Linked DNA regions of Homo sapiens: regions 2, 3 and 4 are each linked to region 1. Evidence: promoter capture Hi-C in 16 types of primary human blood cells and fetal thymus (Javierre and others, 2016). All regions are on one chromosome and are shown on one strand. The core of a region is centred on a gene start or on the middle of the fragment in contact, and the rest is flanking DNA. Distances in the headings are between cores, read along the strand shown. Region 1 holds the start of PRAG1 (PEAK1 related, kinase-activating pseudokinase 1). Region 2 overlaps MFHAS1 (multifunctional ROCO family signaling regulator 1). Region 3 has its middle 47 kb from the start of CLDN23. Region 4 has its middle 42 kb from the start of CLDN23.

Evidence for each region. Contacts are between HindIII fragments. The CHiCAGO score rates a contact against its expected background, and 5 or more counts as called.
Region 2: a contact is called between a fragment that was not itself captured here and the fragment with the promoter of PRAG1 in region 1, in 1 of 17 cell types (M0 macrophages). The highest score is 5.1, in M0 macrophages.
Region 3: a contact is called between a fragment that was not itself captured here and the fragment with the promoter of PRAG1 in region 1, in 4 of 17 cell types (M1 macrophages, M2 macrophages, M0 macrophages and 1 more). The highest score is 8.4, in M1 macrophages.
Region 4: a contact is called between a fragment that was not itself captured here and the fragment with the promoter of PRAG1 in region 1, in 15 of 17 cell types (M2 macrophages, M0 macrophages, endothelial precursors and 12 more). The highest score is 31.3, in M2 macrophages.

What each region holds. Positions count from the first base shown.
Region 1 is chr8:8,384,656-8,389,003 of GRCh38, reverse strand. PRAG1 (PEAK1 related, kinase-activating pseudokinase 1) reads left to right here and starts at 2,565. Exons shown (of 6, transcript NM_001080826.3): 1 at 2,565-2,683. RefSeq lists a silencer at 2,183-2,862. The HindIII fragment of the contact is 9,968 bases long and covers 1-4,348 here.
Region 2 is chr8:8,866,448-8,874,356 of GRCh38, reverse strand. The region is part of intron 1 of MFHAS1 (multifunctional ROCO family signaling regulator 1); the gene reads left to right. Among named protein-coding and RNA genes, the nearest start is that of MFHAS1, 23 kb to the left of the region's middle. RefSeq lists a silencer at 5,584-5,878. The HindIII fragment of the contact is 1,084 bases long and covers 709-1,792 here.
Region 3 is chr8:8,744,566-8,752,474 of GRCh38, reverse strand. No RefSeq gene overlaps it. Among named protein-coding and RNA genes, the nearest start is that of CLDN23, 47 kb to the right of the region's middle. The HindIII fragment of the contact is 5,283 bases long and covers 693-5,975 here.
Region 4 is chr8:8,655,898-8,663,806 of GRCh38, reverse strand. No RefSeq gene overlaps it. Among named protein-coding and RNA genes, the nearest start is that of CLDN23, 42 kb to the left of the region's middle. The HindIII fragment of the contact is 2,820 bases long and covers 3,564-6,383 here.

The DNA of each region.
Region 1 (4,348 bases), core at 1,316-3,815:
AATTAGGGGCCGGGCGCGGTGGCTCACACCTGTAATCCTAGCACTTTGGGAGGCCGAGGCAGGCAGATAACTTGAGGTCAGGAGTTCAAGACCAGCCTGGCCCAACATGGTGAAATGCTGTCTCTACTAAAAATAGAAAAATTAGCAGGGCATGGTGGTGGCCGCCTGCAATCCCAGCTACTCAGGAGGCTGAGGCAGGAGAATGGCTTGAACCCGGGGAGTGGAGGCTGCAGTGAGACAAGATCTTGCCACTTCACTCCAGCCTGATTGAAAGATGAAACTCCATCCCAGGAAAAAAAAAAAAAAGAATAAGTTAGGTAAAGAGAAGAAAATAAAGTGCAAAAGTAAGTGCTTCTTTTATGTGTTCAGCACAGCCTTTATTCTGTGAGGTCAATGTCTCTCTTACAGAGGAAAGAAGTGAAACATTTAGCCTGAATCCTGAGAACCAGGAACTTCTCAAACATCTTAGTTTGCCCTCTCCCAGTGTAAATGAATTGCACACTTTCTGAAGTCACTTTTGTATTTCTCCATTGCAGACCACTTTGTACCTACCTGTTTAATCAACATCTTCCCCTCTTGAGTCTTGGTAGGGTCTGGATCTTTCAGCTCTGTTGGATGCTCATGAAGTGTAACCAAAGTTTCCCTTCCTTTTTTTTTTTTTTTTTTTTTTGAGACAGGGTCTTGCTCTGATACCCAAGCTGGAGTGTAGTGGTGCGATCTCAGCTCACTGCAACCTCCACCTCCCTGGCTCATGTGAGTCTCCTGCCTCAGCCTCCTGAGTAGCCGGGATTACAGGCGCCCACCACCACACTCGACTAATTTTTGTATTTTTAGTAGAGATGAGGTTATACCACATTGCCCAGGCTGTTCTTGAACTCCTGGCCTCAGGTGATCTGCCAGCCTCGGCCTCCCAAAATGCTGGGATTACAGGTGTGAGCCACCGCGCACGGCCAGTATTTGTTCAAATGATTTCTCTCCACTTAGGGGAGAGAGAAAAATAGGGCTGGACTACCTGCACTTGGCAAGGGCAGAGTGGCAGAGTAGACTTGCCTACCAGCGAAGCCAGACAGCCTTTGGTTCCAATCTTAGTACTACCACTTTTCAGCTGAGGAACCCCAGCAAATTGTGAGGCCCCCGAGCCTCAGTTTTCTTATCTGTAGAATGGGGATAATGATGCTCTCCTCATAGGATTGCTTAGCGCTGGGTAGGTCCTTAAGGAATGTCCATTGCACTCCCATCCCTCTACAGCTTCCCCCAGATTCTGTCCTCTTAGGAGGCATGGGTGTCACTGGAACATGAGGAAGAATTCCCTGGATCCTTTTTTCCCTTTCCTCACACAGAAGCCAAACCTCAAATACACATCTTCCCTCTCTGTCCACACCCACAGCAGCAAAGAGGAGAGCCAGGGATCTGGGGGTGGGGGTGGGGGCCCATCTTCCTCCTCTCAGTGGGTGGGGGCTCGCAGGCTGACTGGCAGAGGACCTTCACTGGAGTCAAAATAAACTGCCTTCCTGGGGAGGGGATAGAGGGCGAGAGAAGCCGCAGGTATTGTTTTGTGGGGGAGGGGGGTCCTCTTCCTATTCCATTTCACTGAATTCTTCCCACCCGGCATGGCCCTGGGAGGTGACCATAGCCCTGGCTCCCCGAGTAAACACCCAGGTCAAGCTACAGGACTGACTGGGTCTTAAGCTATTATACTCCCAGTGAAAAGATTTTTTTAGCCCGAGGACTATCTCGAACTCGTTCTATCTCAGTGAATGACTCACTGGAAACGGTGTAAACACAGGTGTATTACTGGCCTGCGGAAGACTTGGATGTCCCAGCATGGTAGAAGGCCAGGTCCCTGCAGTGCAACGCTTGCATTCTACATCCAGAAAACTAAAGTTCAAAGAGGTTAAGCAATTTGCCAGAATCCTGCAGTCCAGGGACTGAGCGGAACCTGGAATCCGCCACCGGGACTTCCAGCCCTGCTCCCTCCGGCGCCACCCTCTTCCCAGAGGTAGGGAGAGCTGAGGCTCGCTGTGCTCACGTGGCTTTCAGAGCCCGCCTCGGACCCTGACCTGTATTCCACTCCCGACCCCACACTTCCTCGTTTCCCCTTCCTTCTCCCTCTCTTCCCAGGGTCCCGCAGGGCCGGCTGGATGAAGTGATGCCGGGCACCTATACACGCATGATGGCAAAAGGAGGATTGCAACGCCAGAGCTCGCCCCTCCAGAGCTGTGCAGGGTCCCCACCGAGGAGGGGGTGCAAACGGGTGCTGGGCTCGGGGGTCAGCCCGCGCCAAGTCTGGGGCTGGGGGCGGAGCCTGCCGGTCCGGGGCGGGAGGGTGGGCAAGAGAGGGAGTCCCGGGGCCTGGAGACTTTGGAGGAGTCGGGGCCCTGGGGGTAGGAGACCGCCGGGTGGGAGCGGCAGGCGCAAGCCGGGCGGCGGGGCGCGCGGGCCAGGCGGGGCCGGGCGGCGGCAGGGACTGCGGAGGTGCGGCGTGAGCTGGGGCGGGCGGCGTCACCGGAGGCGGAGGGGGCGGAGCCGCGCTCACAGCTGCCACCCGGCCGCCGGGCCCAGGCAGAAGCCACCCGCCCGCGGCCGGGCACGCACCGCGCGCAGACCTTCTGCGAACAATGCTCCGGCCGGGCGGCTGGCGGCTCGGAGACCGACGGAGGGGCCGGGGGAGCGCAGCCCAGAGGTGAGCCCGCGACGCGCTCTCCAAATTCGGCCTCTTTTTGTCTGGCGAGCGTGGTCGCAGAGGGGAGCTTTGGAGGGGCGCTGCGATCGCCGAGCGGGCTACCCCCGGGGTGACAGGCGACCGCTCGGGAAGTGGGCAGTGCCGGGGCCGCGTGAGCCCCGGGTGGTGCCCGAGGTGCAGGGAGGCGCCCGGCCGGGAGGACCGAGGAGCTGGAGGGTGTTTTTGATTCATTCGAGAATCGCGCTCTTTAAAACGGGGAAACTTTCCTACGAGTTCCAGGAGGGAGGACCGACTGTTAGGATGGTTTCTCTGGTCTTGCTGCTCTGTCTGCGGCCGGAGGCTGAAGCGCTTTGAGGACTGCTTTCCACCGCTAGAGTATTGTCAAGGGGGAGAGACGGAAGGCCGCCTGGCTGCTGGGACCAGGACCCGGGGGGATGGTTTGGGGGTGCAGGGTATGCAGCAGCGGGGCTCCAGAGGCAACGAGATGATGCCCTTTTCCCCGAGCCCTGGCTGAGCCCTCTGAAACGCATGCTGTGAGCACGTTATTAACCTTTGCTGGTATCCGGGGACACACACACTTAGAACATAGAATCCTCTGCTGGGCATGGAGGCGGCCGGGCATTCGCAGCGGAGAGCGCCAGCTCACGGTGTGTGCGTTTCTCTCAGGTAAGCTCTCCCTGCACATGGTTTTGCAGAGCCGATAGCAAAGCCCAATGGTCTAGGGGCGAGGAGTTTTGGCGATGCATTCAGTGCGGAGTCAGGCTCAGAAGGCTTTCCTGATCACTGGCCTGAACTATTCTTAACAACTCCTCTCCCCTTCCCTTTCTGAGAAGAAAATTTGACAGAAAGCCCTAGGGAATTCCGCAGTTATTTTTCTCTCCTGAGGTCTGGTTGGTTTCGACTGTAGTGGGTGCAAAACCACATTCCTCCCTCTGAGATTTTCTTTCCTCCAGCACTGGAGGAAGAAAAAAGAAAAGGAAAAGTTGGGTGAATATCGTAATTTACCCTCTGCGTGAGTAGGGAGGCAGGGGGCTAGTGGGTGGTAAAGTTGTCACTTTCTCCTTTCTGCCTGGTCAGCCCTGGCCAGTGGAGTGTGCTGAAGTTCAGACACTTTCCACACATATTTCTTTCCTTTTACTGGCGTTGCATTAATTTAACTGTAACATACAGAAAAAAATTTTAGGTGAATGTTTTCTGCAATTCTGTCACTTCAGAATAAGGCATAAGCAACTTCTGATGTAAGTCTGAGGGGGTATTTTGGGCCAAAATATTTAATCTTAAAGATCTGGCCACCTTGATTCTTCAGATTCTTTTTTGAAATGGGGTGGGAGTGTATCTGACAGCTTCAGTCTTGCAAACTGTAGCCACAAATCTAGTGCAGAAGTTTGCAGAGGCAAAGACATTTTTTTCATGACTTGGATCAGAAAGAATGCTGAGCTCTTTTTTCTAATCTGACACTGCAGCCTCCTACTGAAATGGGGAGGATTTGCATAATTCTGGGGGCTGCCTCCCCTCAGAAGTAAGGAATGTGGGCTGCGAAGTGCCTTCCCCATGCTGTGGAGAGCTGGCACTGCTGCACCAGGCAAGGCGAGGCAAGGCTTTGTGGGTGCCACTTGTGTTTCTCACCATCTTTTACTTAAAACAAATAGGAGATAATTCCAGGCA
Region 2 (7,909 bases), core at 1-2,500, 490 kb before region 1:
TGTGTGTGTGTGTGTGTGTGTGTGTAGAATGTTATAGTATATCCTACAAATATAGCATAGTAGTCTACCAATGGATGTATTGTTCAGTCACACCTATACCGGCAGACCTTTGATCCTTTCCAGATTGTTAAACTAAGTACGTTCTCCACCTTCCAGAGGTGTAAGAAATACTCAGTTTTATTTCCTTCAGGGTTAATAATCCCTCTCTGTGCTCGGAACACTCTTGAGATGCAATTAGAAAAAGACAAATCTCTAAATCAAAGTGGTGGGACCTAAAAAAAGCCTCGAGGGTTATGAAGGCTTCGCTTTGTGATTTGAAACAAGGTAATTTTTTTAAATTGGCTTTGGTGATGTGTATTGGAACACCATTGTTTTCAGCATAATTACGCATTTCACAGCTTAATTCAGCCATTACACGTGATGCAGTGTTTAGACATAGCAATAATTACAAATTGTACATGTTTACAGATAGATATACCGCTGATCAAAATAAAACAGTGGCAGCAAGAATGATGTTCTGTCCATGTAAGAAATCAATGAAATATAATTAAGAACGAACTGTATCTCATTGACTCAAAACATTGCATCTGCCTTTCTGTCCCATCTGTTTTCTAAACAAAAATCTTCCCGCGCTGCGTGGTTGTTTTTATTTGTATCCTAGAACCATCCTCTCGAGTTCCACACCGTTGTATTTTCTACACCTAAGCTTGGTGTGTTCTGCACAGGAAATGTTTCTTGGATGTTTTATCCTCATACCAAGTGGGAATTTAAAATTTAAGAGATTACCCACACTCTTTGCCTTTCTGTACATGTGATGAAGAAAGAGTGGGTGTAACCCAGCACTCTAAAATGTGTTTGACCTGTAAAAAAAAAAAAAAAAAGTAAGCAATTAAATCCTGTTATAGTTGCTTCTGTGTTTAAAACATACTTAATGACGTATATATTTATTTCAAGCTAACAAAGTCCCCAGTCAGGTTCTTGGGAGTTTTTTTCACAGGACTCATTGAAGTGTTTGGTCTTTAAAATCCTTCATTTCATGCTAACTGCCAAGTCAATGCAGACAGTATGGCCGAACAGAGCTGGTCACATTTTCCCTGAACATGCTATTAAAAAATATATTCACTGGGATTCTCTTGACTCATGGCATAGCTGAGGTGACTTTGATTCCGGAGGGCTATTGCTTATGAATTGCATGTGGAAGAACTAAAAATAGAAATGTGAATTTTCCAAAAGAACACTATGATACCAAAAATGGCTCACTGGCTTGCCTAGAGCTGGGCTGTTTTGTGCCCAAGGTACAGTAATAAGAACTGGGATGCAAAGCCCTGTAGGGTGCATCTGTCCCCTTCCCTGACACCCCTCACTCCCAGATGGCTCACGAGTGGCACTGCCCGGTTGTCTCCGTCTCACTCTTGCACGATGTTCTGCTGCCTGTCTGGGATGGAGCAGGTGTTCTTTTGAATGTATTTGTTAAGCCTCTGAAATATATGCATTTCCCCCTCCCCAAGAAAAACACACATGTGCATGCTCTGTGCTTTTCCCTGGTTACTGTATTGTTCCCATCTTTTTTTTTATTTTTATTTTTTCCCTTGGAATAGGGAATATCCACTCATTTTCTATTTAGTCCCTTCAGGAATTTGCCTTAGGGGCTGTTGGGCCAGGCCTCACTGCAGCCAGCCAGAGCTTATCAGCTGTGTGTTAACCTCTCCCAGACACTTCTTGAATGCTGTTCATGCATCCGAGCCTATGCATCTGAGCCTCCTCTGTGTAATGTGGTGCGGCATTAAAAGCTTACCCAAATAGCAGGGATGATTGCATCTTGTTGATTACCAGGGCTGATAACATTTTCTTGCTTAGCTAAAAAGAAAAGCCAGATGACTGTTTCCAGGAAGTGATAAACTGCCATGCATCCGGCCCCAGGTGGTCCGCATGAAGGAAGCTGCAAGGTTGGAATCCTCCTGCCGTCCCCTTTTACAGTTCATAAATCTTCTGATTTATGGGGCCATTTGTGATTGCAGACACATTTATTCATGGGGGGATTTCCATCGAGATCATAACCCACTGTAAAGCAGGAGGAAGAATCAGGAATTAGAACGGTGTACATTCCTCTTTGTTAGAAAAGAATCCCGATTCTTTGGTCATAGACAAATATTTGCTTTTGAAGAATCTGGTGGTGTGTCGCTGGCTTTGTTCATATCCGTGCACAGTCACATGCTCCCTTGCCTCCCATGGACCCAGAAGCTTATGTTACACAGATCGTTTTATAATGCTTGCCATCCGGGCATGTTTATGCAAAGTGTGAATAACTTTTTGCCTTAGCCTCCTCTTCCTTCCTTCTCCCTCCTTTGATTTAGCTCATTTCTGGAATGGGGCAGATTTTCATCTCAGGGAGTTGATACGGTTTCCTAGGTAGGGTGACAGAACAAGTGTCACCTTAGCTGTAGCTAGAGATGAATATTGCCATGCAGCTTACTTGCTTTATATTAAACCAGCATTAGAGAAAGAGGCCTTGCATCTTTTATCAGCAGTATGTTAACCTCTCCCAGGCACTTCTTGAATGCCATTCATACATCTGAGCCCATGCATCTGAGCCTTGGATGTAATTAAATCAGTGGATTAGGAAGTCGGGGGCCTGGACCTCTGGGAAGCCACTTGGCCTCCCTGGGCCTCAATTTCGTCTGTAAATAGGTAAAAATAATTCTAACAGTTCCCAAGCATTTACACCTGCTATCAGAGTCTCCTTAGATGTTGTGAGGGGGAAATGAATGAATAGATGTCAAGTCCCCAAGTAGTTTTTTCTTTGTTTGCGTGTTTGTGATCACTCTGTTGCCCAGGCTGGAGTGCAGTGGAGTGATCTTGGCTCACTGCAACCTCCACCTCCCTGGTTCAAATGATTCTTGTGCCTCATTGTCATGAGTAGCAGGGATTACAGGCATGTGCCACCATGCCCAGCTAATTTTTGTATTTTTAGTAGAAACTGGGTTTCACCAAGTTGGCGAGGGTGGTCTCAAACTCCCGACCTCAAGTGATCCAGCCCCCTCGGCCTCCCAGAGTGCTGGGATTACAGGTGTGAGCCATCACGCCCAGCTGCAAGTAGTTTTTACCATATAATAAGGGCTCAGTAAACATTAGCTCTGATTACCATCATCCTGGTTTACAGATGAGGAGTGGAGACAGAGGAGGGCTAAGTCATATGGCCAGGGGCACACAGCATGTAGCAGAGCCCAGGTTGTCCTCAGGAACCTATGGTCTTTGCTGTCACCCTGTGCTGCTTCTCAGGAAGGCAATAGCTTGTCACCCATTAAAAATGGGTAGTTATTTGAATGAAAAGCAGAATAACCCCCGGAGGCAGAGGTTGCAATGAGCTGAGATTGCACCATTGCACTCCAGCCTGGGCAACAGAGTGACGCTCCTGTCACCAAAAAAAGAAAAAAAGTAAGGACTCCTTGTGTGAAATGCACATGGTTGCTTTTAACATTGCAGTACTGGACTATAAACATTTGCTGGGGATTGGCAGTGACCAGCCATGGGGCAGAGCATGGGGCATGGGAGGGGAGCAAGGCCTTGACCCCGGGAAGCTGCAGTCCAGGGAAGCAGTGTGGACAGTAAGCAGAGATTTGCAGGGCTGTGTAATAAATTCCAGGAGAAAAAGATCTCCAGGGGCTCGGAGAGGCCTGCGGGATGGAATCTGTCTTGATCCACGTGTGTGTGTGTGGGGTGGTTAGATGGATGGGAGGTCTCCAGGGGAGGTGAGTCGTAGGGACTTTCTGTAAAACCAGGGCCCCTGACGTGTGATGGGCTGTACAAATTACTGGCAGCCCAACTATTCATTTATCAATGCACGTCTGTAAATATTTTTGTTTTCTTTTTAAACCTTTTTTGTTTTCCTGGGAGACAGAGTCTTGCTCTGTCATTTAGGCTGGAGTGAGGTGGCGCGATTTCAGCTTACCACAGCCTCAACTTCCTGGGCTCAAGCTATCCTTCCACTGCAGCCTCCCGAGTTAGCTGAGACTGTAGGTGCGTGCCACCATGTCTGGCTAATTTTTTTTTTTTTTTTTTTTTTTTTGTAGAGACAGGGTCTCACTATGTTGCCTAGGCTGGTCTTGAACTCCTGTGCTTAAGTGATCTGTGCATCTTGTCCTCCCGAAGTGCTGGGATTACAGGTTGAACCACTGTACATATCCCGTGTAAATAACTTTTAGCCTATCTATTCACTAGCTAACACTTTTTCACCAGAAGGAACTTCTGGCATCTGGGTGTTAAGCTAAATTAAAGCCTGATGGTTTTTTTCAGAGGGTGAGAGGAAAATACTGAAGGGTCAAATGGGGAAATGTCAAATTTCCATTTTGTCAGCACACTCAGGGCAGCAGTGTGGAAGATGGATTTCAATGGAGTAAGAATGGAGTCAGAGGGACCACTTAGAGGTAATTCAGACAATAATAAACAATAGAGGCCCCCAGGTAGGTCCTTGGGGATGAAGGCAATTGAGTCTTGGATGTTAATGAGGCAGAGTCCTGGGCCTCTCTCCTCCTAGCTCTGAGCTCTTGAACCTTCCCAGGCTCCGGTTTCCTCATCCATTAGACAGAAAGCATGACTGATTTAAGTGTATGTTTCAAGAAAAATTTTAACCACAGCGGGAAGAAGACTGCAGCATGTTTTAAAAAACAGAAAGCGGAAGTGATTTGATAAGATTAATTTCAACAGGACTGATGTGGAACGGCTGCTAGCTTAATTGGTTTATTAGGGTCGTGTAGCCACCCTCTTATGATGGATACCAGGTGAATTCCAGGAGATATATAGTCTTAGGTTTGTAAGCAGTGCCATTTGCAGAGGAATAAGGTTCTTTATTTCTTAAATTTGGAAGGGTCTCATAGAAATAAGAGACTTTATAAATATCTAGTAACCTGTCACCGCTTTAAAATACCGCAAAGATAAATGATGCTGATTGTCGCGTGCTTGGCATGATGAATTATGTATGTAGCGTGCCCCGGAGTTCTTTATGGTTGTGCATAACGAATCAGCTTTTGTTCTAGCTTATTTTCAGTGGTAGTGCTTGTAAAAGCAGAGGTCAAAGCAGATGCACTGAAGAGATGTGGTTGGTGCAGGATGATCGGGTTTTGCTATCCTGTTCTGTGCATTGCTTTTGTTTGTGCTTTGATTTTTCATTATCAACTTTGGGGAGGGTGGGAGAGCAGCCTTGTGGCATTAACAGCTGCATGATGGCACAGAGCAGGCAGCGACTCTTCTTGGTTCATGCACCTCAAAAGCGGCCCTCTTTTTGCCTTCCTCCTCCTCCTCTCTGCACCTGCTTTGCATAGCTGTTAACTACTTTTCCACCTAATAATAAAGGAAATTGAAATAAATGGTTAGGAACATGCCCATAATCTTTTTTCTCACTGACTTTCTCTAAACTCTAGACGAAACTAGAGAGGATTAAGAAATGTAAAACACAGCAGAGAATGTCTTTTTTTTCCTCTCCCTTTTTCTCTTCCCCTAGCAAAGATTTCTTTAGAATCTGAGTGAGATATCAGAGGTGCTGTTTGCATATGAAGTAGCGATGACTATGGGTGGAAGCCAGTTGTAAGGTTGCATAGTCATTTATAACTTCTTTCTATGTTAAGGTTACTACCGACTTTATGAGAGGAGCCTCCCAGACTCAGGTGTCATGCCTGACTCATGAGTAATTCATTAGAGAGGGCCCAAGCCATGTATTTCATTGTGGGTTTGTGAGCGGCCTCATCTTCCATAAGATGCTCATTTGTTGGGCTGATCCAAGGCAAAGATCCGAGTAGTTGGGAGTAGCTCCAAATTGGGATGAGCCCAGGCCTACTGTGCATATCTGTTTGGAAGGGCACATCTGTCTACCAAGGGCTGGTTCCAGTGTATTAGCCGAGTGGCACTAGGTAATCAGTTTACAGTCAGTTTAAAAAAGTTGAGGCTATCCTTCTCGGTGATTAATTATGGCTTTTAGTTCATACTAGATTAAAAAAAATCTTTGCATCTTTGCAAGAATAATCATTAACTTAGTTTGTCTATATTATTAGCCGAAAGATACAACACAGTGCTCATGCAGTGTAGAGAAATGAGATAACATCTAGAGTTTACATGTAAGTAGCTATTTGTCAGGATATTTATTCATTGATTCTAGATTCATAAAGCAGGAGTTTCCAGAGGCCTTGCAGCAAGGAATAAGCACCTGGGAGATTCAACTGAATCCCCCTCAGAGCCTGTGCGTTGGGAACTTGGTCTAGAAAATGGATCAGGTTTGTGCGCTATACCACTTATTATAATAAATGATAAAAGTCAGTCTGGACAGAGTGCCACAGAAGTTCAGGCGAGAAAGAGGATTCTTCCAACTGAGTGGGGCCATGGAAAAACTCGAGTTCCATTTATTAGCGGTAGGAAACACATGTTGAGAATGAAGAATGGAGTTAAACAATTGGTCTTTCCCTCAGATCCCAGGGTTTTTAACCTGTTACTAAAAAAGTATAGCAATTTATGGCCAGGCACGGTGGCTCACGCCTGTAATCCCAGCACTTTGGGAGGCCGAGGTGGGCCCATCACGAGGTCAGGAGATCGAGACAATCCTGCCTAACACGGTGAAACCCCGTCTCTAGTAAAAATACAAAAAATTAGCCGGGTGTGGTGGCGGGTGCCTGTAGTCCCAGCTACTTGGGAGGCTGAGGCAGGAGAATGGCATGAACCCGGGAGGCGGAGCTTTTGGTGAGCCGAGATTGCGCCACTGCACTCCAGCCTAGGAGACAGCGAGACTCCACCTCAAAAAAAAAAAAAAGTATAGCAATTTATAATGTTTGAATTATCATTAGCTTATTGGCGTGTAATAATACTTTGCATACTTTTAAAATTCTGGGGTTGGATTAATAATAAAAGAGTAGAAACATTGTTTTTATAAAAAAAATTTTCTGTGCGACACCTATAGGCAAGTACCTATGGGCCTCCTTTTAATTTTGGACTGTTTTAGGAATGTTTTATTTTATTTTTGGTATCTTAGGAACCATAAGAAGCATACTTTCAAAAATGTGAGGGTATATTTTTAACTTTTGTTATAAAAATGTAACAAAAAGTTTATATGGTGAAGAATTTAGTGGGTTTGCATATGCTGATGACCATTGTGACTTTCATAAAACCCCACAGCCTGTGTTTAATTCCATTTCCTACTAGTACAGACTTGAAGAGCTCAGTCCATCTCCTTTATTATCTTGTTTCCTTTAATCTATATTAATGCACCTTAGCAGTATCAGAAATTTTGTTAATATATTATGTGTAGCTGAACTGTAAGCTAAAAATAGATCATACCAACCCATCTCTCTTTCTCTTTCTTTTTTTTCCCACTGTCACCTTCACATTTATTCTTAGTGACTTGCAAATGATGGGATTACACCTTAAAAATTGTCTTGTATCAGATATGTATTTCCCCATTCTCTAAAGAAGGCTAATTATGCAAGTACACGGTTCTTTCCTGATTCATGAATTCATATCACGATTTTATTTTCAGATTCCTCAAGGTAATTGCTTGTTAGACTGGTTCACAGGATGAGAGATATCCAAGTAGTCATATGAACCGTTTCCGTCCCATTCATGCCATTCTGTCTTCTGCAGAAAATAAGTGAGTCAATCACTGTTTATGAGAATGTGTAAGAGACTGGGGAGAGAGAAGGGACTCAGTGGCCATTTTGTATCACGGATCCTTTTTACTAGGGATAAGAGTGATCCTTACTGGCTGACTGCAGTGGCTCATGCCTGTAATCCCAAAACTTTGAGAGGTTGAGGTGGGAGGATCGCTTGAGCCCAGGAGTTGAAGACCAGCCTGGGCAACATGGCAAAACCCCATTTCTACAAAAAATAAAAAATTAGCTGGGCGTGGTGGTGCATGCCTGTAGTTGCAGCC
Region 3 (7,909 bases), core at 2,085-4,584, 360 kb before region 1:
AGCGCTGCAGTTCTGGACTTTAAAGTATAGATGATGCAATGAGTTTGACAGCCTCTTTGACCAATTAGTTTCACAGCTTTCTAATTTCTGCCAGTTAGAAGTGACATAGGTGGGTCACTGAGTATTCATTCCTCTGGCCTCAGGCCAGGTGACTCTTAATGTCAGGATGTCAGAGGGTAGGTCGCAACCCAACTTTCTCCAAAACTTCTAGAAAAGTCTCACAATTTTATGTAAGCAGACACCCTGAATTTTTTATCAATCAAAATCCAGACCTAATTGATGAAGCTCCTTAAAACATAAAGCTGAGTCTTTTATTTACTTTGTGGTTTCAGAGAAAGTCACATGTCTAGTTGTTCTAGATTGTTCTACTTTCCTTCTGTCGCTATGAGAGATCATTTCATCTATTTATTCTCAAAGGCTGCCACCATCCAAAACATGGAGAAAAACCCTTAGCCCCTCATTAGAGGAATGAGACTTGGAGTTTCTATTAACCCAATTTCTGAGCAACCTCTGTTTGACTCAACTTGAGACATACTCATGTTAAATGGCATACTCTTTGGGAAACCCAACTGACTTTCTGATATTTACAAAATATTTAAAGAAAGAGAATAAAAAGCCTTTAGAGCAAAACCCTGGAAATATATAATTTACTTCCCAAACATTCAAAAGAGAATTTATGATAGTAAAAAGCTTATTATTCTGGATTAAAACCAACCAATGTGTTTAGTCACTTTACAGAAAATAAATTTAAATCAGGATCTGAAATTAAATATAAAAATATAACGAGATTGGTAAATAGCTTTAAGGTCTTAAAATTCAAGTGTGTCTCTGTTGTTTACATCGTAATGATTTCTGAATTAATGGTATTAATAATTTCATCACCTTTTAGTAATAGTAATATCTAACACATATAGTTATTTTAAGGTGACTTATACAGTAGCCTTACTAAGTAGGTACAATTATATCTTTTTTACAGATGAAGAGATGGGCACCAAGAGTTGATTGCCCAACTCTACACAGCTAATAAATGGCAGAGCTTAATCTTAAACAACAGATTTAAGTCCTAAATCCTGAATACAGAGTCCAAGTTTTTAGCTGCTACATTTGACTTTGTCCGAGTTATTATCAGAAGCAAATTGCCAAACTTTCCTCTTTTGCCTCCCAGCACAATTTATGGGCGGTCTCTCCTTCTCACCCAGGAGTGTTGGGTAAATGTTTAACAACCAACCCTCTGAAGAACTGATTTATAGCATTTGCCAATTTCCATGGTGTAAATATTCCTTCCTGGCCAATTTCACGTTACCAACTTGGTGTCACTGACCATGAGGTTGAGAAAAGATGGGCTAAAAATTTAGCAATTGGCTCTCAAGAGCGAGTCCTATCAGTTCATTTTCTGGGTGTAATTTTAAGGGTAAAACTGAGGCAAGGGTGAAATTAAGGTCTTGGGTTACCGTTTCAATGGTGTCTGCCTCTAAGCCCTTCTCCAGACGAATTTCTGAGGCTACCAAATTTCTTAGGGGAGAAGAACCAGGATGTGGGTTTGCCTTGCGCTCCTGAGAGTTTGGCTTTCTGCTGCGCCACCTGGTGGCTGTAACTGACAGTTGCTGTATTCCCTGCTGCTGTCTTGAATTCAGGCTTTAGGGTTCTTCTCCCCGAGATGGTCAGCATTCTTTGCCCAGGAGCAAGTTCAGTTACTAATAAGGCTTCTCGTGGGTAATTGGACTCTTTAACTGACAATCTCCTTTACTGAGGCCTTTAGGATAAATTCCCAGGCGTTGGGCCAAAGGGCAGTTGAGTAACAAATTAGCAGCCTTGTTGTCCTCCGCTGAAACCACCCCAACTCCACAGCAGTAGAGAGCATCCCCAGGCTTGGTTCATAAATGCCAGAATATCCGGTGTCCTAGCAAATGTCCCAAAGCTCTTGTCACTGTTTTCTAAGAGGCTTAGAGGGTCTTCAGCAAACAGGTCTTCAAGTCTTCCACATTGATATTCGATAGTTCCAAAAGCCGAAGGCATAATCCCATCCGCCATCGCATAAGCCTGCCCTTTCTATCACTACATAATTTTAAGATTATATATAGATATATATAAATTACATACATATATAGATTATATATACACATATATAGATTACATATATATATATATAGATAATAGATAGATGATAGTCAGATAGCAATGATTTGGAGGTTACCTTTTGGTTGCGCTGATCCATACCAATAATCTGCTCCTTAGTGTATTAGTAACTGAGCACTAATCCTATATTTGGGAGTTCCTCAAACATTCTTCCCTTCTTCATTTATTTTATTTTATTTTATTTTTTGTAGAGACGGGGTTTTGCCATGTTGCCCAGGCTGGTCTTGAACTCCTCAACTCAAGCGATCCTCCCGCCTCAGCCTCCCAAAATGCTAGGATTATGGCATGAGCCACTGCACCCAGCCACCTTCTTCATTTTTGTATCTTCTACTTACTATGAATTTATTCATACAACAAGTATCTATTGAGCACAGCTATGTGCTAGTCATGTGGCTAGGATGTGGACACAATGATGAATTAGACATAGATCCAGCCCGGAGCTTGAGGGGCTACCGTGGTGTGGTGGAAACTAGGGAATACATTTGGAAGCCTTAGACAAAGCAGAATGCTGTGGGTGTGATGATGAGGGGCCACTGCACTCCAGCCTGGGCAACAGAGTGAGACCCCGTCTAAACAACAACAACAACAACAAAAAGCCCATACGTTGCTGTAGGTTGCTTCAACAAACAGTTTCACATGTCCCTCTTCCTAAAGATTCCTTTTCAGCTGGTTTGAGACAGAGCCTAGGAATCTTCATGTTAAACATATTGAATAAACACTCAGATAATATTTGATGCAGGTGATCTAGGGAACCCATTTTGAAAAGCATCGTCCTTTAGAGGTGGGTTGCTCCCAAGTCCCGCTGGCATCTTGCCTAAACAGTGCTTTTGTCAGCAGGCTGGATGCTTAGCAAGAACCTGCAGTCCTGGAGTTCTGAATGAATAGATTTTAAACTGGGGCCTATATCACCCTGAGGTTACAGAGAAACTTTACAAGGGTTTCTTGCCAGGTGGTTTTCAGGGCATTCATTTATTGACCCTCAGCTTCCCTTTGTACTGTTTTGTAAAATCCATCCACAGAGGCGCTGCAGGGCCACCAGGTTGGGTCTTCTCTCCCCACCTGCCCTTTTGTCCTCCCACTCTCAGCCTCAAGCTCCTGGGCTCAGTTGATGCTACTGCCTCAGTGATTCTTCCATATTTTTGAATATTTGAGATCATAGACTACATGGATTTGTAACATTAGGTCTCAAACTAACACAGTTTGAGATTCATCTGGGAAACAGAGGATGAAATCAGAGAGGGGTGGACGGTGGGGACGTGGGCTTTCTAGGACAATGGAGAATAGCAGGCAGAGCTGTCATTCAGGGCCATCTAGACACAGCCTCTGCTTTCTACCTGGAAGGGGAGGTGGCCTTGTAGATTGTGAGGCAGGTTCAGGAACAAGGAGAGGCTGATGCTTTCCAATACTACCTCAAATGGAAGCACATGGATTACCAGCGTATATTATTCCAGATTGGCAATGCCTGCCTGAGTCTAAAAGGGTTGTTGCACTACAAGGGTTTAGCTGTTTTCTCAACATTGACGAGGACCTACCTGGACAGAGAATGACACCAGTCCCTTGAGTACTATAGGCAAGTCAGGAGCCAGGACAAACCTCTCCGGGTCTCTCACCCACTCTCTGGGAGCCTCCTTGTTTCTGTTAATTTCTCTCTCTTCGCCGAATTCAATTGGGAAATATAGCAGGTGTATGGGAATGTGTGTATTTCTGAGGGGGAATGTCACTTCTCACTGATCTACAACCCACCTTAAACACTGCAGCATTACATCATGAACAATTTCCCTGGTCAAAACAACAACAACAACAACTCAGTCTAATGAATACACAAGATTTTACTACATGGCCATGTCATACTTTATTTTTCTAGAAGGCAGTATTATTTATATGTATATATATATTAGGTTTCTAAATTTTTATGGTTATATATAAAGTGCTGTATCTTTCAACTTTTAGAAAGTTGCTCTACAAATCTTATGTATTCATTCAAAGAGTATTTATTGATATTTACTATGTGTAAGTCACTGGTCTGGGTAATTTAGAGAGTCCAAAGATAAATCATAATTAGACACTGCCCCAGAGGAGCTTATGACTTACAAGGGAATTAGTACTCTATGGATGGAAGTTATGCTTTATTTCATCTTGATAAGGATCCTCTGAGATGGGCAAGGCGGTGCTACCATCTTCATTGCTTTTGTATGGAGGAACAGGAAGTGCAGACACGTTATGACCCTTGCCTGAGGTCACAGATGGTCTTCAGTCTAGCCTCACACTTGATTGATAGTTTGGCTATGATAATCTAGGTAAATTGTTAAAAATAAATACATTAGGAAAATGCAATGTGATAAACATTTATAAATAAACTTGTGAAATTTTCAGGTTATGTTAAATTAGGTAATAGATATTCACAAAATGTCTGAGTCATTTCTAAGTAAGTTAAAATACTGAAACATAAATTGCTGAACATAAATATATGTTTGTTCTTGGCTTCTTGAATTTTATATAAAGACTAAATATATTTGGGTTTATTAATACACACAAAAATTATGTTTTGGGGAAATGCTTTTTGAAATGATAAAATGGTTCACATCTGCAACATATTGATATGTGACAGACACTAAAAAACATCTTATTTCCTAGGTTTTCAGTAGAAATTAAAGTTATTAAGAGTTAAAAATTCTAACTAATATATATAATTCTGCATATAAAGTTTACCAAAAAATGCGATATGTTTTTAATGAGGATTCTCCTTTTATGACCTTCCCTGGCTCTATTTGTTAGAATTTTAAACATGTGACTGAATTTTGATTCTGACAACTTTCACACACCTGCAAATGATCTTCTAATTTACCTACCTTCGCCCTCCTGTTGTCTTTTTTTTTTTTTTTTTCTTGAGACAGAGTCTCGCTCTGTCGCACAGGCTGGAGTGCAATAGCATGATCTTGGCTCACTGCAACCTCCACCTCCCAGGTTCAAACAATTCTCCTGCCTCAGCCTCCCAGGTAGCTGGGATTACAGGTGTGCACCACCATGCCCGGCTAATTTTTGTATTTTAGTAGAGACGGGGTTTCCCCATGTTGGCTAGGCTGGTCTTGAGCTCCTGACCTCAGGTGATCCACCTGCCTTGGCCTCCCAAAGTGCTGGGATTACAGGTGTGAGCCACCGCACCCGGCCCCTCCTATTGTCCTTTTCAAAAACTATCCGGACCATTTGACCCAGCAATCCCATTACTGGGTAAATATTCAAAAGAAAACAAATGATTCTACCAAAGAGACACATGCAGGTGCACGTTCATCACAGTGCTATTCATAATAGCAAAGACATAGAATCAACAGAGGTGCCCAACAACAGTAGATCGGATAAAGAAAATATGGTACATGTACACCATGGAATACTACACAGCCCATAAAGAAGAAAAAATCATGTCCTTTTTAGAAATATGGATGCAGCTGGAGGCCATTATCCTAAGCGAATTAATGCAAGAACAGAAAACCAATTACCACGTGTTTTCACTTATAAGTGGAAGCTAAACATTGAGTACTCGTGAACATAAATATGGGAACAACAGACAGTGGGGACTACTAGAGGAGAGGAAGAAGGGAGTGGGGCAAGGCCTGAGAAATGACCTATTGGATACTACGTCCACTACCTGGGTGATGGGATCATTCATACCTCAAACCTCAGCATCACACAATACATCCAAGTAACAAATCTGCACTTGAACTCCCTGAGTCTAAAACAAACGTTGAAAAAAACCTATCTGAAAAGATTTTTAAAACTCTATTTTTGAATACTTTTATTGATTTTTTAAGAAAAGTTGTGTCAGACTTTTAATTGTCAAAGCTTTTCTTGTTCTTTGATTTTTATTTTAAGGTGATACTGTTCTTGTTTTATAGATGTCTTGTGTTTGCTTATTTCTCAAACAGTCATAGTTTCTATGGAACTCTCTTATGCTCCCTGTGTTGTCTCTGTTTCTCTGAATTTCTGGTTTCCATTAGTCTGTTTTGGTCTTTTTCTCTTTACTTTTTTTTTTTTTTTTGAGATGAAGTCTTGATCTGTTGCCTAGGCTGGAGTGTAGTGGCATAATCTCAGCTCACTGCAACCTCTGCTTCCCAGGTTCAAGTGATTCTCCTGCCTCAGCCTCCCTGGTAGCTGGGACTACAGGTGTAGCACTACCACGTCCAGCTAATTTTTCTATTTTTAGTAGAGACGGGGTTTCCCCATGTTGTCTAGGCTGGTCTCGAACTCCTGATCTCAAATGATCCACCCACAGCCTCTTAAAGTGTTGGGATTACAGGTGTGAGGCACCGTGCCCAGCCTCTTTCACTTTACTTTTATTTTAGATCTTGTTTTCCCCAAATGCCTGGCAAGTTTGGCCCAGCCATTTATGAGCGAGGCATATTTTTGAGCTGATTGTAGGTTGTGTATCTCATGAGGCTTGTGTCTAGTGGTCTTTACTATAACAGGGTTGGGAAGCGACTGCGCTGCTTTATTGGGCAACCTCTAAGTGTTAATATCCCCAGAGAAGGATGCATGCCCCCGTTTCCTGTTGGGAGAGTGTAAGCTTGGGTGCAGGTGTGACGGACCCGGGCGGAGGAAGAGGCTGGGTGGAGAAAGGTAGGTAGACTCTCACGTACTCCTTGTATTTTTGGATCTGGCATCTCACTCTACTCTTGGAGAAATCTTGAGAATCATCTCTAAAGAAACTTGTGGCTGTTCTTGTGGGTTTCTTGATGACATTGAGTTATTAGGTTGGTGCAATAGTAATTGCAGTTTTCACAATTTTAATGACAAAAACCGCAATTACTTTTTTTTTGGAGATGGAGTTTCGCTCTGTTATCCAGGCTGGAGTGCAGTGGTGCCATCTCAGCTCACTGCAACCTCCACCCCCTGGGTTCAAGCAATTCTTGTGCCTCAGCTTTCTGAGTAGCTGGAATTACAGGTGCTCACCACCACGAGTGGCTAATTTTTGTATTTTTAGTAGAGATGGGTTTCACCATGTTGGCCAGGCTGGTTTTGAATTCCTGATCCTTAAGTGATCCACCTGCTTCAGCCTCCCGAAGTGCTGGGATTGCAGGTGTGACCCACCACGCCCGGCCGCAATTACTTTTGCACTAACCTAATACTAATTTAGCCTGTCTGCATTGTTGCCCTTTTTTTTCTCTCACAATCTTGTGACTTTTAGTCCATGTGGACATTAGAGGCACAGTTGTTGGTTCTGTGATCATGTATCAGGGAGATAAGAGTGATGGCTCAATTAATATATACTCTGAGCTACTTAAATTTCAGTCATGATATATAAGGAAGAAAAGAATCAATAAAATGAGCATATTATTGACAACTGCTCAAACACCTGTCAGTATAAGCTGTCAACAGCAATTGTTTATAACAGATGATATTAAAAGTCTCATGTCATGAGAAAGATAAATCTGTTTAGAAATCTTTTTTTGGTGACAAGTTGTCAAGCACAGCAAATAAAAGTAGTCTGGCATCTTCTAGTTGCTGAAAGTAAAGTTTGAAATGATGCCACTGCTCATGGTTCAATGACTCTGAAAACCATAGGCCAGGAGATCTGCAGTAGATCTTAGGGTCCATGTGGTATCATTTCCTCTTTTTACGAGAAGGAGGCTGAGGTTCGGAGTGGTATATAAATTGACTGTTCCTCATAATTAAATGTTACATACCCTTTTATAACATAGATGCTTTTTTTTTTTTTTTTGAGATGGAGTCTTGCCCTGTCGCCCGGGCTGGTGTGCAGTGGTGCGATCTTGGCTCACTG
Region 4 (7,909 bases), core at 3,724-6,223, 270 kb before region 1:
GCGACAAAGCAAGACTCCAGCTAAAAAAAAAAAAAAAAGCTACAGTGTTTCAATGTTGTCTGTGTCCCCACACGCAGATTGAATAGATATGACACCTTGCATATATATATATATATGTATATACAAAATCTCACTTTGTTGCCCAGGCTGGAGTGCAGTGTTGTGATCACAGCTCACTGCAGTCTCAACTTCCCTGGCTCAGGTGATTCTCCCACCTCAGCATCCCGAGTAACTAGGACCACAGGCATGTGCCACCATGCCTGGCTAATTTTTGTATTTTTTGTAGAGACAAGGGTCTCACTATGTTGCCGAGGCTGGCCTTGAACTGCTAGGCTCAAGTGATCCTCCTGCCTTGGTCTCCAGAAGTGCTAGGATTATAGGCAGGAGCCACCACGCCTGGCCACCTTGCATATCTTAAATGAAAGTTATACTTTCTTTTGATAGCTGTCATGTTTTGGAGAAAACAACCTATCATTTCATGGTAACTTTGACTTGGCCTATCCTATGAGTGGCTATAAATGGTTACTTCTTCTAGTTTACTCATTATACCAGGCTTGCTATTTGTCCCTGCTGAGTGGCTCATGTGGCAATAATTAATGCAATTATATAGCAAGATTAGCTTTTCTTTCATAAAACTCAGTGAGCTTGATGAACCAAGAGGGCAAAGGAAAAGAAGTAATGAAGCAGCTTGTAATTGCACAAAGATGAGCTGCTAGAGTCTACACTGCTGGAAATTTGATGTTGAGGAGATCTGAATCTTTAAGTTATTTCCCTAATTCTATATTGGGAATACGGAGGAAGGAAAATCAACAAAGAGCTTTGTTAGAAAGCATATTGAGTATTAATCAATACTTAAAGGATAACGTTTGCTCAAACATAGAGTACCTAGAATTTCTTTTTTAAGACACAGTTTCACGTAGGATAAAGTCTATTAAATTTTGCAGTGTAATAAACTGCTATAAACATAGAAGATTGGCCAGGCAAGGTGGCTTACACCTGTAATCCCAGCACTTTGAGAGGCCAAGGCAGGTGGATCACTTGAGATCAGTAGTTCGAGACCAGCCTAGCTAAAAGAGTGAAACCCTGCATCTACCAAAAAATACAAAAAATGGCTGGTTGGGGTGGGGTCCCAGCTACTCCAGGTGGAAGAATCGCTTGAACTTGGGAGGTTGCAGTGAGCTGAGATTGCACCACTGCACTTCAGGCTGGGTGAAACAGAGAGAGATCCTGTCTTTTAAAAAAAAAAGAAGAAGAAGAAGTTTAATACAACATCATTGCTTGAGCCACAGTTTCTGTACGTCAGAAGTCCTGGCAGGCTTTTCTGCCTTAGTTCTCTTTTATTGCTTTTTTTTTGAGATAGAGTCTTGGTCTGTCACCCAGGCTGGAGTGCAGTGGTGCGATCCCAGCTTACTGCAACCTCCACCTCCCAGGTTCGAGCAATTCTCCTGCCTCAGCCTCCCAAGTAACTGGGATTACAGGCATGCAGCACCACGCCTGGCTAATTTTTGTTTTTAGTAGAGATGGGGTTTTGCCATGTTGGCTAGGCTGGTCTAGAACTCCTGACCTCAAGTGATCCACCTGCCTCGGCCTTCCAAAGTGCTGGAATTATAGGTGTGAGCCACCACAGCTGGCTTGATTTTCTGCCCCAGTTCTTACAAGTCTGCAATCAGGTGTCAATTGGGGTCACATTTGAGGCTCAGGGTTCTCTTCCAAGCTCATGTGGCTGTTGGCAGAATCCATTTCCTTGCAACTGGAGAACTCACAGAGGCTGCATCTTCAAGGCTGACATCTATCTGGCTTTGAAATTCTCTGACTCCTTTTAAAGGCTCATCCGATTAGATTAGGTTCATCTAGAATAATCTTTTTTTTATTAATTCAAAGTCAACTGATTAGGGATCTTAATTACATCTGCAAGATCTCTTCTGCCATATAAAGCAAAATAATTATGGGAGTGGTATTCCATTGTACCCACAAATCCTGCTCACATTCAAGGGAAGGGGCTCATAATGAACATGTAACCAGGGGGTAGGACTCTTGGGACCCAGCTTAGAATTCTGCCTACCTCCCACTAAGCCCAACTCTGAAACCTGGACAGGGTACAATGACAGCTATTTGAAAACTCTGCAAAATAAATAACAGTAGGAAATCAGGGAACAACACCAGAATTCTAAGAGCCATAGAACTGGCAGATAGAAACAAGACCCAGCATAATACTGAAAATGTTCAGGATACAAACCAAAATTACTTGTGATATTAAAAAACCTCTAATTGTGAAGTGGCATCGTTGTCTGGGGTAAATACCTGAGGTTCGTTGTCTGACAGCCACAGAAAACTAGGACATTAAGACATAAAGAGTGAGCTTAAGAGCAGAAGTTTAATAGGTGAAAGAAAGAGAAGAGCTCTCTCCTGCAGAGATAGGGGTCCTGAACGGGTCACCAGTCTACGGTGAAATGCAGAGCTTGAGGAGGTAGTGTCTGATGTATACAGGTCCCAAAACATTGGTCGGACCAGGTGTGCCATTTGCATAAGGCACAAAAAAGCTGGTTAGGACTAGGTGTGCCATTTGCATAGGGTGTGAAAAACTGGCTTCTCCCACCCTAATCTTGTATTATGGATGGGTTCTCTACCTGGCTGCAGCCATGTCGCCTGTTTCTTTACTGTACACTTGGTAATAAAGAGAAGGGAAGATGGAGCCTCCATGTTGGATGTGCCTGGCCCCCGGGTAGCCCTTTTCTGTTGGTACACTGCTGGCATTCACACATGCAAGCTTCCAGCTTGATTATCTATCTTTGCAGCTTAAGTTTTCAGGCTGCTCCTTGATAGAAAAAATAATTTCTTGGGCTACTTTTTGTTAGAAGGGAAGCCTTGCTGAAGACTCTTTACCCTCACTATTTGCCTAAATAATTTATTTCTAGCTCCTGTATCATTTGCATGGGAAAAGAAAATCAACAGACACCAATGATTAGATGACACAGATAATAGAATATTCTAGAAGGACATTAAAGAAGCTATTATTAACGAGCAAGTCCAAACACTCTTGTAACTTTGGATTTAATTTGGTCTTACTTTTTCTAGTTTCTTAAGGTTGAAGATGAGGTAATTGATTTCAGAACGTTCTTCTTTCTAGTGTAGGCATATAGTGTTACACATTTACCCTAAGAACTGCTTTAACAGCATCCTGAAAATTTCTATATGTTCATTTTCATTTAACTGAAAATACTTTCTAATTTCTCTTTTGATTTCTTCTTTAATCCATTTAGTATTTACAAGTATATAATTGTGTATTATTTAGTTTCCATCATCCAAATAATTGGGATTTTCCAGAGATCTTTTCATAATCGATTTGAATTTACTTCCATTGTGGTCAGAGAACATACTTAGTATGACATGAACACTTCCAAATTTATTGTAACTTGTTTTATAGCCCAGAATATTGTCTATCTTGGCAAATGCTCTGTGTGTCTTTGAATACACTGTGTGTTTTGCTGTTGCTAGGTGGAGTGTTTTATAAACGTCAATTATGTCAAGTTGCTTAACAGTGACTTTCAAATCTTTGATAAGCTTGATGACTTTCTTTTTACTTCTGTCAATCAGAGAGCTAATTATTGAAATCTCCAAGTATAATTTTGGATTTATTTTGTTCTCTTTGTAGTTCTAACAATTTTTGCTTTATGTAGTTTGAAGCTCTGTTATTGTGTGCCACTGTTACTAATTTGCCACTCCAATTTTCTTTTGATTAGTATTAGTATGGTATATCATTAAAAATAATTTTTAAATTATTTTACTTTACCCATGTTTTAATATATAAAGAACATTTCCTTCTCCTCTTCTTCTTCTTCTTTTGACTTAACAACAGAAATTTATTTTTTCACAGTTCTGGAGGCTGAAAGTCTGAGATCAGGGTGCCAGCATGTTTGGGTTCTGGTGAGGGCTCTCTTCCTGGCTTGCCAACAGCCACCTTCTCACTATGTGCTTACATGGCCTTTCCCTGGTGCCAGTGTGGGTGGGGGCCAGGAGAGCAAGAAGAGCATGTCTTATAGACAGTATTTATTTCGGTCTAGATTTTCAATCCAGTCTGACCATTTCTGCAGTTAATCAAGATTGTTTAGCTCATTTACATTTAATGTGATTATTGATATGATTAGGTTTAAATCTGCCATCTTGCTGTTTGTTTTCTAGATGTCCTATCTGTTCTTTACTCACTTTTTTCTATTTTTGCCATCTTTTGAATTAACTGATCCTTGAAATAATTTTTTTTTTATTATTGGCTTACTAACTATAAATCTTTTTGTCATTTTAGTAGTAAAATATAGTGTATATAGTTTATAGTGGAGAGCATATAATTCTAATTTTTCACTGTCTTCTTTTGTCTGACCTACCACTTTATGTGTAAGAATCATACAATAGAGGCTGGGTGTGGTGGCTCATGCTTGTAATCCCTGCACTTTAGGAGGTCAAGGTGGGTGGATCACGAGGTCAGGAGTTTGAGACCAGTCCGGGCAACACAGTGAAACCCCATCTCTACTAAAAATACAAAAAAAAATTAGCTGGGCATGGTGGGGGGCACCTGTTATCCCTGCTACTTGGGAGGCTGAGGCAGGAGAATTACTTGAACCCAGGAGGTGGAAGTTGCAGATCCGAGATCGTGCTACTGCACTGCAGCCTGGGTGACAGAGCTGAGGTCAGCAGATCGAGACCATCCTGGCTAACATGGTGAAACCCTGTCTCTACTAAAAATAGAAAAATTTAGCCAGGCATGGTGGCAGGTGCCTGTAGTCCCAGCTACCCAGGAGGCTGAGGCAGGATAATGGCGTGAACCCAGGAGGCGGAGCTTACAGTGAGCCGAGATCGCACCACTGCACTCCAGCCTGGGTGACAGAGCGAGACTCCATCTCAAAAAAATAAAATAAAATAAAATAAAAAGAATCACAGAATAGAATATTTCTATTTCCCCCTCCTGGTTGCTCTGCTAGCACTGTAATATATTTTACTTACACGTATGAAGTTTAACTACATTGTTCTTATTTTTGTTTAAATATTCAGTTATCTTGTAAATAGATTTAATAAGAAAAATCACATATAGTTACAATTTTTGGTGTTCCTTTTTTGTGAAGCTCCTTACTTCCTTCTGCCTAAAAGACTCTAAAATGTCTTGCAGTGTGGATTTGCTAGTGAATTCTTTCAGTTTTTCTATGTTTGAAAACATCTTCATTTCATCTTTGTTTCTGAGAGATATTCTTGCTTGGTGTAAAATTCTAGCTTGATAGTTTTTATCTTTCAATGTTTTGAAGATGTCTGTTGGCTTACATTGTTTTCTATTAAAAAAATCTATTCTCATCTTTATTTTTGTTTCCTCTTTATGTAACATCTTATTATTTTCCTCTGGCTGCTCTAATATTTTGTGTCTATTATTGATTTCTTTAACAATTTGATTATGATATGTCTTAGTGTTTTGTTTCATGCTTCTTTTGCTTGGGGGTTTGTTGAACTTCTTGGATCTGTGAGTTTTTAGTTTCAATTAAGTTTGCAATGTTTTCAACTGTCATTTCTTCAAATATTTGTTCAGTTGCCTCTCCTCTCCTCTGGCAACTCCACTGCACGTGTATTAGGCCAGTTGAAGTTGTCTCAGAATTCACTGATCCTCTTTTAATTAAAAATTTTTTTTCCAGACAAGCGTGGTGGCTCACACATGTAATCCCAGATTTTGGGAGGCCGAGGCAGGTGGATCACATGAGCTCAGGAGTTCAAGACCAGCCTGGTCAACATGGCAAAACGCCATCTCTACTAAAAAAACACACAAAAAAATTAGCCAGGTGTGATGGCACACACCTGTAATCTCAGCTACTCAGGAGGCTGTGGCAGGATAATTGCTTGAACCTGGGAGCCGGAGGTTGCAGTGAGCCAAGATTGCACCACTCTACTCCAGCCTGGGCAACAGAGTGAGATTCTATGTCAAAAAAAGAAAAAAAAAATTGTTTTTCCTCTCAGTGTTTTTATTTTGGATAGTTTCCATTGCCATGGTTTCAAATTTACAGATCTATTTTTTTGCTATGTCTAATCTACTATTAATCCCATCAATTTTTTAAATTTTTGATATTGTAGTTTTTTATTTACAGAAGTTCAATTAGAGTATTTTTGTTAAATCATTTTTCTCTACTTAACTTTTTGAATATCTGGAATATGGTTATAATTGCTCAATGTACTCGTCTACTAATGATAACATCTGTGTCAGTTTCGAGTCAGTTTTGAATTATTTCCCCCATCATGTGTTATATTTTCCTTATACTTTCTATGTTTGATAATCCTTATCAGATACCACCCGTTGTGGTTACTACCATTTTTGGATACGTGATACTTTGCTTTCCTATAGCTGTTCTTAAGCTTTTCTCTGGGATGCAATTAAGTTGCTTGGGTATAGTTTGAGCCCTTCAGATTTAGATTTCATAATTTGTGAGGTGGATCTGGAGCAGTGTTTGGTCTGCGGCTAATTATTTCCCACCGCTAAGACAGAATGTTCATGAGTATTCTGCCCAGTGTTCAAAAATGTGTTTTCTCCCTGGCTGGCTGGTGGGAGGGAACAGCTAATAGTCTTGACACTTGGTGAACACTGTGTGCTTTTCTCTGATCCTTTCAGATGTTTTCGCCCCTCTGGCATTGAGTAGTATCTTCACATGCTGTCACGATCAATACTGTGTGAATATTGACAGAACCCCGTCCAGATCCCAGGATTCTCTCTCTGTACAACTATCTCTGCTGGTTCTCTGTCCTGTAAACTCCAGCTGCCTTGCTATCCCTGGACTCTCATTTCCATCTTCTTGCCTAAAGGAGTCCACCAGCTTCTACCTGGGTTCTCCCTTCCTGTGCCACAGTCTGGAAACTGTCTCAAGACAGTGAGCTGGGGCAAAAATAGGGCTCCACTAATTTGTTTCCCATCTCTTGGAGGTCACTGTGCTTCATTGCCTGATAACCAACGTCTTGCAAACTGTCATTTAATACATTTTGCTGTTCTTGTTTGTGTGTGTTCATACTGGTTTCAGGCAGGTGGCAAAATGTGTCCACCTTAAGTCAAAATCTGACTCCATCTTAAGCAGAAACAGTTTTCTTCCAGCAGTGTATCCTTGCCAGGTATACTGAATAATCACAAAATGTTTTGCTGATGCAAAAGTGAGATGCTGGGAGGTTAAAGGCCTCACCACAGAGCCATCTCCCCGTGATGCTACCTCCTGGAGGAAGGGCATGCACTTTTCGTGTCTTTGCGAGAGAAGTTTTAGTAGAATCTTTCCATCCTGGCACGTTACTTGGCTATAATTACATTACAAATGCTAATGGGAGTTATAATCACAATTATGCTAATCTCTGTGTTTAGTGCCTACTGTTGCAAGCAATTATGGCCAATGAGCTCAATTTGTAAGTTAGCATTTATTAAAGTTAGCCACTGAAATATTCTGTCTTAGGCAGACTGCCTCTAACATTTTTGACTAAAGTGATTTACTTAAACAATTTCCTAATAGGGAATAAGTACTTACAAAAAGGCTTTTCATCTTCATTTTCCTTTGATGAAACAGAAAGGAAAACATGCCTGGAGTCAATGTTTTGGCCTGTCTATTAGATAACAAGGGCTCTGTGAAGTTCTTTAAAAATATTTCAGAGAAAGTTTTCTGAACAAACTGCCCAGCTCTGGCTCAGAGCTCTTACAGGAACTGTAGAGGAATTGATGAGGAGAAACCTCACATCCCAAATGGCAGCAAATAAGAGACTTGGCAGCCTGTGTAGGCAGTGGAAGACAATTAGGACAGGAAATTAAACACACACACGATCTCTTTATATTTACGTTTCATGCATTTATCTGGGAGTCCATCAAAAGCAGATATGTTAAATGGATGTAGAACTAGACAGGCAAGATTCTAAA